3 separate regions of the Homo sapiens genome follow, and regions 1 and 2 are each linked to region 3. The links are contacts of gene promoters, found by promoter capture Hi-C in human tissues and cell types (Jung and others, 2019). All regions are on one chromosome and are shown on one strand. Each heading gives the region's core, a stretch centred on a gene start or on the middle of the fragment in contact. The rest is flanking DNA. Distances are from core to core; before and after follow the strand shown.

Region 1 (4,359 bases), core at 263-2,762, 45 kb before region 3:
AGAGATAATCCACAGAATGGGAGAAAATATTTGCAAACCATACATCTGATAAATGGTTAATATTCAAAACAGATAATTCAAACAACTCAATAGTAAGAAAACAAATAACCCAATTAAAAAATGGGTAAAGAAACTGAACAGACATTTCTCAAAGGAAAGCATACAAATGGTATAGCAGGTACATGAAAAAAATGCTCAGCACCACCAATTATCAAAGCAATGCAGCAATAAGATCTGAACTCACACCTGTTAGTATGGCCTTTATCAAAAAGACAAAAGAAAAGTGTTGAGAAGAATGAAGAGAAAAGGGAACTATGGTACATTGTTAGTGGGAATGTAAATGAGTACAGCCATTATGGAAAACAGTACGCAGGTTTCTCCAAAAATTAAAAATCAAGTTGCCATATGATCCAGTAATCCTACTTGTGAATACATATCCATGGCAACTGAAATTAATATATTAAAAGGATATCTGCTCTTCCATGTCCATTGCAGCATCTATCAGTGATAAATGAATAAAGAAAATGTGGTACATATACACAATGTACTAAGCCTTTAAAAAGAAGAAATTCCTGTCATTTTGTAGACAACATTAATGACCTGGAAGACATTAGGCTAAGTGAAACAAACCAGGCACAGAAAGACAAATGCTGAATGATCTCACTCATGTGAAATATTAAAAAGTTGAATTCACAGAAGTAGAAAATAGAATAATGGTTACCAGAGGCTGGGAGGAGGGGCAATAGGGAGGGAGGGGATAGGGAGTGGCTGATCAAAGGATACAAAGTCTCAGATGGACAGGAAAAATAAGCTTTGGGAACTATTGCATGGCAGGATGACTATCGTGTAATAATGTATATTTTGAAACAATGAAAAGGCCAGGCACGGTGGCTCACGCCTGTAATCCCAGCACTTTGGGAGGCCGAGGCTGGCGGATCAGGAGGGCAGGAGATTGAGACCATCCTGGCTAACACAGTGAAAGCCCGTCTCTACTAAAAATACAAAAAATTAGCCGGGCGTGGTGGTGGGCCCCTGCAGTCCCAGCTACTCGGGAGGCTGAGGCAGGAGAATGGCGTGAACCCGGGAGGCGGAGCTTGCAGTGAGCCGAGATTGCACCACTGCTCCACTGCACTCCAGCCTGGGCGACAGAGCAAGACTCTGTCTCAAAAAAACAAACTAACAAACACAATGAAAAAAATAAATTTCAAATGTCTCACCATAAAAAATGATAGGTAAGCAAAGTGATAGATATGTTAACTGGCTTCATTGAATCATTACACAGTGTATACATATAGCAAAATATCAAATAGTATCCCATTAAATATATTCAATTTTAATGTTTCAATTAGAAATAATGTTAATTTAAGAAATCCAAGTCTTTGGTGTATTACTATCCTCATTTTATAAATAAAAAACTGAGGATCCCAGAAGCTTAGTTATTTGCTCTGAGACACAGAGTTAGTGAGTGACAGCTTGGATTCTAAATAGCTGCCTGACTGAAATTTGTGGCCATTCCATTATATCAGGTTACCTTTCTTTCAGAGCCTCTATAAAGATTTTAAGATCTTAAGAAGATTTGATAGCAATTTGCCTGGAGGCAGAAGACCACTGAAGCTTCTCGTACAGGTATAAGCTGATGCTCCAGTGTTATGGAGATATTAGCAATTATAATATTGGCAGCCAAATATTGAGTAGGGCACAAAAAAGTGGTTCAGAAATCAAGAGACTTCGATTCTACCCTTATCTCTGTGTAAGACCGTGAGCGAGTCATTAACCAGTTTGCTCTCCTATTTCTCTATAAAATGATCAGTGAACTTTTTACAGACTGACTCCATGACCAATTTAAAAGAGAAGGAAAAACCTTCTATTAAGCTGTGAAGTGGAAAAATTAACTAAGATCTGTATAATATTTTGCATTTTTTCAAAGTCACTTAAAGCTTCATAACTTCTCTTAACAACCCAGAAATGTATTCTAGAGGAGATGTTTATCCATACTGAATGACTTTCTTGTCTCCTTGGTATGAGAATGGAGATTGAATGGAGAGAAAAGGAGCAGAAGCCAGTGGTTGAAAATGCTTCAGGACTCCAACCTTGGTTCTAGATCATCATCCCGGGAAAGAAACAATGACAGTATGGAGGGAACCCTGCTAATCCACTGAAGTTTTTTTTTCTGGGGTCAGTGCTTGAATTTCAGCTTCACCTCACAGTCCTACACACATATACTTTTAGCCCTATTTCCTGGAAGAATGAGGAATGTGATCATCAGTGCTATGCATTCCCTGCAGAACAGTTAATCTTGCTGAAGAGTATGTGTTGGTAAACACATCTCCTTTTGTTGAGAAAGCTGCTGCTCCTTGAGCCCAGGCAAAGTTGGATAGAACACCCTACACTCAGTCCCAAACTAAGAACATGTCCCTCATCAGGTTTTTTCCAGGTGTTTCATGGGCCCTTCTCTGCCAGACACCATGGCAGTCTTCTGCCTTGGAATGGATGAAGGTGGGCTTTATACCATCACTCACTGTGAAACCAGACTTCCTCCCTCCTCTATGAGTACGTGGGCTTATCTGCTTCTGTCTTCTGGCTAGTTATCTTATCTATAGCTTCTTATTCTAATAAGGTATACATATAGCAATGGAAGAATGGCCTTCATTGCAGTAGGCCATCCTTGCATTGCTATAAAGGGATAACTGAGACTGGGTAATTTATAAACAAAGGAGGTTTAATTGGCTCATGCTTCTGCAGGCCATACAAGCATGGCACTGGCATCTGCTCAGCTTCTAAGGAGGCCTCTGGGAGCTTTTACTCATATCATAAGGTGAACCGGGAGCAGGCTTATCACAGGGCCAGAACAGAAGCAAAAGAGAGAGAGAATGGTAGGTGTCACACACTTTTGAATGACCAGATCTTGCATGAACTCACTCATCACCAAGGGGATGGTGCTAAGCCATTCATGAGAGTTCTTCCCCCCGATCCAAACAACTCCCAACAGGCCCCACCTCTAATTCTGGGGATTACAATTCAACGTCAGATTTGGTGGGGACATATATTCAGGATATATCATTCATGTTAGGTTTGTTAATTTGGTTTCTCACCCTTTGGGGTTCCTTTTAATATATAGTTCTACAAACTGCCAAACTATACAATAAATACCTTTTTATTAAATAAATGAATAGAAGCCAAATTTGCATCATGAGAAAATACTATAATTATTCATCCTTTCTACTGGAATATTTTCTCTTTTTAAATAAATTTTTATTTTTATAATTTTTTAACGGTACCAGACATTTAATAGCCACTCCCCCTGCATCCCCACATATTCTCTGTACTCTAAAAAAATCAACCATTTAAATTTTCTGCTGATTTTATTTTCCTTCCAACTTCTTTTTTAACTTTAATTTCAGGTCTAGGGGTACATGTGCAGGTTTATTATATACTAAACTTGTGTCACAGGTGTTCGTTGCACAGATTATTTTGTCACCTAGTACCTAATAGTTATTTTTTCTGATCCTTTCCCTCCTCCCACCCTCCACTTTCAGGTAGGCCCATCTGTGGTTCCCCTTTTTGTGTCCATGTGGTTCAAGGGTACATGTGCAGGTTTGTTATATAGTAAACTTGTGTCACAGGCATTCGTTGCACAGATTATTTTGTCACCTACTACCTAATAGTTATTTTTTCTGATCCTTTCCCTCCTCCCACCCTTCATCTTCAGGTAGGCCCATCTGTTATTCCCCTCTTTGTGTCCATGTGTTCTTATCATTTAGCTCCTACTTATAAGTGAGAACATGTGATATCTGGTTTTCTATTCCTGAATTAGTTTGCTAAGGATAATGGCCTCCAACTCCTTCCATGTCCTCACAAAGGGCATGATCTCATTCTTTTTTGTAACTGCATAGTATTCTATGGTACATATGTACCAGTTTCATTTTCCAGTCTGCCATTGATAGGCGTTTAGGTTGATTCCATTTGTTTGCTATTGTGAATAGTGTTTCAATGAACATACGTGTGCATATGTCTTTATGGTAGAATGATTTATATTCTTTTGGGTATATGCCCAGTAAAGGGATTACTGGCTCAAATGATACCTCTGTTTTTAGCTTTTTGAAGAATCATCACGTTGCTTTCCACAATGGTTGAACTAGCCACAAGCAGTGTATAAGCATTCCTTTTCCTTCACAACCTCGCCAGGATTTGTTTTATATATAGATATATAATATATACATATATTTACTTTATATATATATATATTTACTTTTTAATAATAGCGATTCTGAGTAGTGTGAGATGGTATCTCATTGTGATTTTGATTTGCATGTCTCTAATGATTAGTGGTATTGAGCTTTTCTTGTATGTATGTCTTCT
Region 2 (4,325 bases), core at 1,276-3,775, 60 kb after region 3:
TTTTTATTTGTAAATTAAAAATAAAACGAAGAAAAACAAGAAAGAAAGATAATGGAATGTGGTACCGTTTTTGAGACTAGAGTTAGCTATGGGAGCCTCAGAAGTGTGTTCTTTTAAATGGAAATGCTTTCAAATTTCTGATACTAGCTGAGCTTGCCAGCATTGCACAAAAAAATCATTAACCATTGTTCAAGTAAATATGTCTCTGCCCACACTGACCTTGAAGTAGATTATACAGAAATGCTCATGGGTGCAGAGGGGCAACTTGAGTGTATTGTAGCCCTGCCTTTGCATCTGCTTTTGTGATTTTTCATTTGGAGGTCATATTTGACAGAATTTTTACACTTTTGTTGTTTGTTTTGTTTTGTTTGGAGTCTAAGGTATGCCTACTTAACAGCACGCACATAGGTCTCTGGTACCAAGTTGCACCTGCTCTGAGGGATCATTGACTGTTCATTTTAGGGGCTTCCCTGGATGAAAGCCTTATAGTCTCTGCTTATAAAGTTTAGATCACTTCAAACATTCCTTTTGAAACATTCCTTCAAAATTTGTGAAAATCTAACTAGTATTCCTTTATGTATACAGATTTTTCTTGAATCAGTTCCCCTTTGCCATTCCTTAGTATTCAGTAAGGTTCTGCACATTTGAAATCCTGATGGTATAGGACTAAGGAGAATGAAAAGAAGATGGTCTGATCCAAACTTATACAAGCAATTTAAGAGCAGACAACATCAGCTAAATTTGAAAGGTGAGGATAGCAAAGAAGGAGCAAATTTGGGAGACAGAATCAGGGCTGTTCAGTCTGCTTTCACCATGAAGCTCCTCCTTCTGGCACCAATACCTTGGGGTCCTTGATTTTATTTCAGTAAGGAAAGCAATCCCTTGAGCAGAAAACAAGACTTAGCTGAAAGTATGGCAATCAAGATACCTGTTTCTCAACATGCACACAAAATTCCCCTCATTTGAGAATTGGGTAAATATTACACTCCAAGGGTCAAGTAGGCCTTGGGAAGCCTCCAATCCAACAAGAAGATGATATTTTCTCTTACTGCTCAGTGAATCAGCTGATTATATTGTTTAAAGAAAATTGCTCTCTGAAGGCTAGCAAAAAAGTGACAAATGTGAAGAAAGGAAGAACCTCATGGAGAGCTAGTTCTTAGGGTCCAGTTTCCCTTCAATGTCTTTCAGTAGGTGAGTTCATCATGTTCTTTGCTGAGACCAAGGATTAGGGGTGGACATCCAACATAAAAAAAAAAAAGAGAGAGGAAAGATCTCAGATCTACCAGACAAAATAATCACTCTATTTCTCTTTGGGGCTGCTTTTAAATATTCTTGAAAAGTCAATGCTTTTCCTCTCTGCATATACATTTAGGCATAACACTTTTGTTACCACAGTCATCTATACCCATCTTTTCTGCTAGAGTGTTGCCTTGTTGACATCAGCAACAGCTTTGTGTTCACTTTTGCAATCAGAGGCACTTAAATGTCTATCGAGTTGAATTGTAAATAGAATCCCATCTCCCTCCTCAAGCAGAGATCTTTTAAAATATTCCTCAAATACCATCTTATGACAAATATTCCAAACATTCCTGGTAGCAGGAAATTCACTGGCTTATAAAACATTCTACTTTTGTACTTCAGGAGTCAAAAAAGAAAAGACAAATTTACTTGTCCATTTCTGCTTTTGACTAAGATGTCTCAGGTTACGTTGAGGTGTATGAAGCCCTTGAACCTTTGGTATTTTTTGAAGAGTCCACTCTAGAGTAAAAATTGTTCAATATGTACCAAAAGAACATTGTTTTCCCAGAATCCATTTATTTCCTCTGACACATACACCAGGGGAAACTGCTCCTGGCTTGGAGAACTCCTCCAAACCAGAGATGAAGATACAGCATGACACTCCAGTGTCTTCTCAGTTAGGCATAGAGATAGCAGGAAGCTCAACCTCCAACTTTGATAATCAGCCTCCTATTCCTCTTCCTCCTTTTTTTCTGCTTCCATTATTCCCATTATCTGTGCTGCAATCCATCTCCTTCTTTTCCCCTTTCCTACTTCTCTTTTGTCCATCTCTGCGTATAGAATCCCTTGAATGTAGAGGAGAGAATGGGGTTGTGTGACCCCTCACTATATACATCATGGAGAAGGACCTGCAGGTGGTATCTGAGGCAGCCCGGGGACTTAGGAGACCTGCATTTAGAAAATGTGTCACTGATAAGAAACTTCCACAGACAGTCTTAACAAGTAAAGTGTTCTTGGGAAGATGAGAGTGAAATTGGAAAAGAGTAAGCTTGCCTCTTTCTTTACTACTAGAGAGACCTAAATTCAGGTGTACTTGGAGGAAACTTTCAAGCTGCTTCTATCAGCATTGTAAGTTTTGTAAAGTATTTGTAAACTGTAAGCAGCTCTGACAGCCACATTTCCCAGGCACTACTGGGAAACTTCATCCTTAAACTATTGATGAATAGAACATTAAATTTTAATTCTCTGTCAATTGAAACTTGCTAATTAAAATCCATGTCCTTTATCTTGGAGACCTTTGAAAAACAGAGCAGAGAAGCTTGTTTAGAGATAAAATAACTATCACCTGGCTGGAAGCTTTTGTGTCTAAGATGCTGTGAATGTTAGTTTCCTATCAATTCAGACTTGCAAGAAAATCAGCAGGTTTTCCACTCTTCTTGTATCAGTCTTTATACAGCACCCTCCCAGTTCTGTTCTTCCTTCTTACTTTCACCAGGCTCCTCATGATCTTGTTTCTGGTGAAATCAAGCCAAAACCAAGGGCAGCTTTGAAGATAGAACAAGGAATAGAGCTTCATAGGACAGAATCACTTTTTCTTTCAGTTTGTTTCCAGTGTGTAGATGTATTTACTGTATTGCTGTTCTCTTGTGTACTACTCCAGAGAAAGCCATTGATGTCTTCTTTAGCATTAAAATTATAATGGTATTCAGTATACCTCCCCATCTACCTGTTAGGGGAGGTAATAGGTGGTGTCTTCAATATTTATGCTTTAAGATATAGCAGACACTATTAGTGTACTGCTTATATGCCCTTCCTCGCCCCCCATTCCTATGCCCACCAATGGCTTTTTAATGCAAGGTCCTGTGGTTGGAGAGTAAGGGCAGAAAAGGGCCTTAACCAGTAACAGGAAATTGGTAGATGAATATCCCAGTCTCCTCAATCTCCAGGTGAGATAACTCTGAGGCACTCCTATAGTATGTCCTAGGTATTCCCAGTAGGATGGAACCCCACTTCTCACAATGTTATTCTGCTTATCAGTGTACTTTACACTGGCTTTTTCCCTTCCCTATCTCACTGCCCACCTCCTCTATGGTCCTTTTATGATCACCTTTCAAATAAACTACTTGCACTAAAATCTTAGTCTCATAGTCTGCTTTTGGGCAATAAAAATTAAGCTACACACAGAGAGAATGCATTTCAATTTTTGAATGTGAAAATCTATGGTGTCACCGAAAATGGTAGAAAAGTCTGTATAGTTTAGAAAATTAGAAAGTTATTATGAAATTTGACCACTGACTATGCTCTAAGCTATACTTTACAATTTCAGCTTTACATTCTCAGCAAAATCAATCTTGTTTAGTCATTCATTAAAATTTTTTTCTGAGCTTTGGTATAAAATGCATTAATGCAAATTGCTATGAGGATATCAGTGAGTGTAATATCTTTTTCTATTTGAAAGAATATTAGATTGTACTTTTGAGGAGAATGAGAACATTCATTACAAAGTTAAATGATAATAGATAAAATAATATACAGAAATGCCAAGGAGTAAATGGTGAAATGTAATGTGAAAATAGAGACTATATATATCGTAGGAGTCCAGTGAAGTCATGGATATAGAAAGTTTTCTGGAAAAATCATGGGCAAGGAACCATAGTGTGGGTACAGAAAGTTTTGCAGGTGCAGAAAGGGAAAGGTGTGCATGTTTAGCATTTGGGTCTGACTGAAATGGAAGATTCTTTTAGGGGAGAAGAGAAGTTAAAAATGTGTATGTACATGTATTGGACCAAGGTTAAGAAGATTATAAATGTCATACTAAGAAGTTTGGGAAGTGAGTATTATCTTTCTTTGTTGTTGGGTTTTAAACACAGTAATAGCATTCATTTATTTCACTCATCCATTCATTAACTATACTGAGCTTCTCCTCTATTTAAAGGCATACATTAGATTTTGTTACTTGGTGAAAAAAGAGGTAGGGAAAGAAGAAAAGGATGACTCAAAACTTGTATGATTGAGAAGTTAGGAAAGTTAGAAAGGAGAATTGAGTTGTTCCGTTTTAGATAAATTATGTATTTATTTATTTGCTA
Region 3 (4,285 bases), core at 493-2,992:
GACTAGAGGACTTGCCCAAACTACTCAGAGACAGAGCAGCTGACCACTAGATTTGAATTTTCCTCATTGCCTTGCAATCATGCCCTGAGACCACCAGCATTAGGTGGTGTTTGTAGGTTTCTTACAGAAGGGTGGTGTTTGTAGATCTCTTGACCAAGAGTCCTATAGTAAGCTAAACTATCATCCTAATTAAAAGGATATGTGGGTTCTATTGTACTAGCATGTATATTAAGATTTATTTGGGGAAAATTTTCAGTATATCTCTTCCTCATCACTAAAGATAACTGTACCATGTCCTCTTGAAGGTATGAATTTATTTTACAAGGGGCATGGAAAATTTGATAACCAAAATAAGGCGTTGCCTCTCCTCTATCTTTCCCATAGTGCTCCCCATTTGGGGGTGAATATTCTTAGGACTTAGCATCATTGTAGAAAATAAGGTAGGCTCTAGGTTTTTTCTTATTTTTTAATGCTATTTGGGATTAAATGGATTTACTAACCTTGAATAATTATTCTCATGTTTCATGGCTCTCTTTGTCTCCTATGTTGATTGTCATTTCCGCAATCTAATAGCATTTCCCATAGAAAAATAAAAATTTACACAACCCTGGCATGAAAGAACAGAGGTCTGTTTATTGCATTTCCATTTCCTGGGTTGCAAAAGCCCAGCACACTTTCAGTTCATCTCTTATAATTCCTATTCAGGCCACTGCTGCTCTCATTACATTTGTAAAACTTCATCTCTCTCCTTTTACTCATCTGAGAGCAGGTGGACCCAGACAGTTCTTTGGAGGCCCAGTGAGTGATTTCTCTTGAGAGAGGCACATCTTTCCAGTCTGCAAAGGAATGAAAATGCAGACAGTCACATAGATCACTTTGAATGGTGCCAAATACATTCCACCAAATGCTACTGGCAATAATTAGAGCATGTCACTGGGAGATGTGGCGATTTTCTTCCAGCATAAGGCTCCAGTCTTACCCTGAGTGCCATGAAACTGACAGGACAGAGGCAGTGTTCTCCATGGAAATAATGTAGACTTCTCATGATCTGAGAAAAGAAGGGGGAGTAGCATTTCTTGACTTTGAAATGTCTGGAGCAAGGTACCCAGGATTAAGTAGGAACCACCTAGAATTTACCATGCCCTTCACTGACTCATACTTACCAGCTATTTCACAAAGTAGGCAAAAGAGTGAATAAAGATAATCATTTTTTAATAAACAGGGTTGTGGTCTCTGGCTGAGGAAAGGTATAACCTGTTGTAGATTACAAAAAGGAAAGCTCTTTGATAAGGACGGAAAGCCCTGAAACCCAGCATGAGAAGTCTGTTCCTCAGGAGGCAATAACATCCCAAAGTCTGCTAGGATTTTAGGTTCAAGTGCAAGACTGTCTTTCATACAAACAGGACGAGAAAGTCACAGCAAAGGATCGAGCAAGCCATGGGCAAAGCAGTTGGAAAAAAATGAATAGAAAAGAAAAATAAGAAACCAGGGAAAGCTGCAGAATGGCGAGGAAAGGCAGAGACGCCTAGGAAGGATAAGACGGGAGGAGGGGGTTGGGGAGGGAGGGGAGAGCGGAGAGAGCTGAGCACGGACGTCAGGAACAAAAGCTCCAGCGGAGTCTGGCGGAGGCACTAAGGGAGCACGGGGTGTTTTGAATAATTATTAAAATTAGCATGTGTCTGCGCCATCCTGTGGGTGTGGCGCAGAGAGGAGTGTAAACTCTAGCGGGGCTAGAGCAAACATTGGATTAGCGGCAGCAGCCTGCCAGCCTGCCCGAGGAGTGCTGGGACCAGCGCGCTGCACGCCGACTGGCACGATGGCCTCGTCTCAGGGGAAAAACGAGCTGAAATTAGCCGACTGGATGGCAACTCTGCCGGAGAGCATGCACAGCATCCCCCTCACCAATTTAGCCATTCCAGGTAGGCGCGCAGGGGCTGCGGGCTAGGCGCTCGGCGCCCGCTCCACCTGCCCCGCCCTGCTTTATCTGCCACTAAGTGGTAACTTGCCACGATGCCCGCGGGAGGGAAACTCGTCTTCCAGGGTGGGTCTCAGGCCAGGCGAGCGCGTGCCGGGTAGCCTTGGGCTTCCTGGCGTTTTCCAAACCCCTAAGGACCGAGGCGCTAGAGTCAAGGTGACTGCTTTTCTCCTGGGCTTTTGAAGCAGGTTGTATGCGGAGGACTGGGGCAGAGGAGAAGCTGGGCTCCAGGATGGTGCCTCGTGACCCCCTCCTATGGTTTCTCCTGCAGATTTGGGGAAGTGGGAGAAATCTCTGGGTCTGCGGGGTGACCGTGTGTGAAGAACGCGAGCTAGTGTCAGGGGCTCGCCTTCGGTGCAAGGACCTGAGTCTATCCCTGGCATGGAATTGGGCGGATTTGATAGATTCTCGGCTACAGTCATTAATATTCGTCCCCAATCTCCTTTAAAAAGACAAAGCGCTTCCCGAAGAGTGATGAAAGTTCAGGGACCAGAGGCGGCGTGATAGCTGCCCTTGAAAAGGAGCCCAAGGGGGCGACGGGCAGAGGGCACCATTTCGTATCGGTTTGGACCCCGGGGGACCTGGCCGAGTGGCCGCTGTCTCGAGTCTGGTCCAAGTGCGTGTTGGCAACACACTTCGCCCAGGTCAAAAAAGCAAACCCTTGCGGACCGTATGTTTACTGCTCGGGACAGAAGCTGGGCAGGGGAACCTGCGTGACCTGAGCGGAGGGGTGGGATTAATAGGCAAATAGTACGGAAAAGGTGACTGAGAATGTGTCCAGACAGTCTAGAAGGAAAGAAGCGTGGACAAAGCGAGGAAGAGACCTGAGGGATCAAGAAGCTTCAGCTTGATGTGTGCGACTTGGACCAGAGACTGGGCAGGTTTCTAGGGTGGCAGCTCCTAACAACCCCCTAGATCAGGTATCCAGGAGTGAGGGTCGTTTCAGGACAGTTTACAACAATGACAGCTGGGACACGGCCATACTTTATTGTCAATTTGGCTATGCAGTTGGGCTGGGGGAGCACACACTTGATCTTTTCAGAGCTGGGCTGGAGGGCAAATTACTCATGAACAGTTCACTTCTGGCCCTGAGCTGAGCTGGGCTATTAAACTCAACGTTATGGTCTACCTCCTCTTGATCTGCCCCATCCAGCGCCCCCTCTCAGCTGTTGGAGGAAAACATAATAAAGAAAAAAACAACAAAAACAAAAACAAAAGAAGGGTTATTTTGAAAATCACTAGATGCTCCAACCAAGAGTGCTGCCATTGATCAGTCCCTCAAATCAATGGTTGTTAGTCAAGTGGATGTTTGGCAGCAATGGCAGGCACAGGCTACTACAAGTGCTATCCACAGAAGGGGCTGTCTCCTTTCGTCCTTCTTCAACAGATAGCTTGCTACCGGCCAGGAATCTCCAAGGAAAAGAACCAACCCCAGCTTCTCCATGCAGCACTTATTCTGCTACCTAGGCAAGCCTGGAGATTGCTCTTTTCAAGGAGACAGTAGAAAGCACAACTTTGGCATAACTCCATTCTCACTTCCACAGGCATTCCCATTCCTTTTCTTCCTTCATTTTTATTTGGATTTTAGACAGCTTCTTTCACATGGTTTCCCCTGAATGTTTTTATATGCATAGAAGGTAAGAAGGGCAATCACTGTGATGCAAACCTTCTGGCAGGTGACTCTCTAGAGCTACAGGATTAAAAGCCTATGTTTGTTTATCTAGTTCTGAGATGGTATGATATCTTTTTGAGTCTACCTTACATTTCTGTAATATTTCACTTTTCAAAGCCCTGTTATGTACACCAGCTCACAAAATCCTTCTAAAACCCCATGAAGCAGGGAGTGCTGGCACTATTACCTCCATGTCACAGATGAAAAAACTGAAGCTAAGTGAAGACAAATGACTTACTATTTATCCCTATCAGTTCAGGGATCTGACCCCTTACTTGGACCTTTGGGAAGATACCCTATGAATTTTGGAGGGAAAGGCTTTGTGATTTGTATCTGGATGATTCAGCAGCAACTGTGACTAACCAGGGTTAAGAAAAAAGGAACTAAGCATTAGTGGGAACACAGTAATTTTCCTTTCCTGCCCTGGGACAAAATAAAAACCTGAGGTGAGAGATTTTGGTATCTGGGTGATCTTAGAGTACAGACATAAAGATGATGACATTGGGCTTCCATGGGAATTTATATTGTTTTCCCAGCTCCTGTTGGTATTATACTCAAATGGATCTCCTGTAAAGCTTCCCCTTCTCACTCCAATACTTGTGAGAAAAAATAGACCAACATTTTTCATCAAATCTATA

The links. The method cuts DNA at HindIII sites, captures the fragments that hold promoters and counts their contacts. A contact is called where the count stands out against the background at its distance.
Region 1: a contact is called between a fragment that was not itself captured here and the fragment with the promoter of PLCXD3 in region 3, in 3 of the 25 tissues and cell types used here (adrenal gland, dorsolateral prefrontal cortex and hippocampus).
Region 2: a contact is called between a fragment that was not itself captured here and the fragment with the promoter of PLCXD3 in region 3, in 2 of the 25 tissues and cell types used here (heart right ventricle and pancreas).

What each region holds. Positions count from the first base shown.
Region 1 is chr5:41,552,862-41,557,220 of GRCh38, reverse strand. No RefSeq gene overlaps it. Among named protein-coding and RNA genes, the nearest start is that of PLCXD3, 44 kb to the right of the region's middle. The HindIII fragment of the contact is 4,338 bases long and covers 1-3,681 here.
Region 2 is chr5:41,448,575-41,452,899 of GRCh38, reverse strand. The region is part of intron 1 of PLCXD3 (phosphatidylinositol specific phospholipase C X domain containing 3); the gene reads left to right. Among named protein-coding and RNA genes, the nearest start is that of PLCXD3, 60 kb to the left of the region's middle. The HindIII fragment of the contact is 3,578 bases long and covers 737-4,314 here.
Region 3 is chr5:41,508,058-41,512,342 of GRCh38, reverse strand. It overlaps PLCXD3 (phosphatidylinositol specific phospholipase C X domain containing 3), which reads left to right and starts at 1,742. Exons shown (of 3, transcript NM_001005473.3): 1 at 1,742-1,919. The coding sequence starts at 1,817. RefSeq lists an enhancer at 1,388-2,216. The HindIII fragment of the contact is 4,804 bases long and covers 1-3,519 here.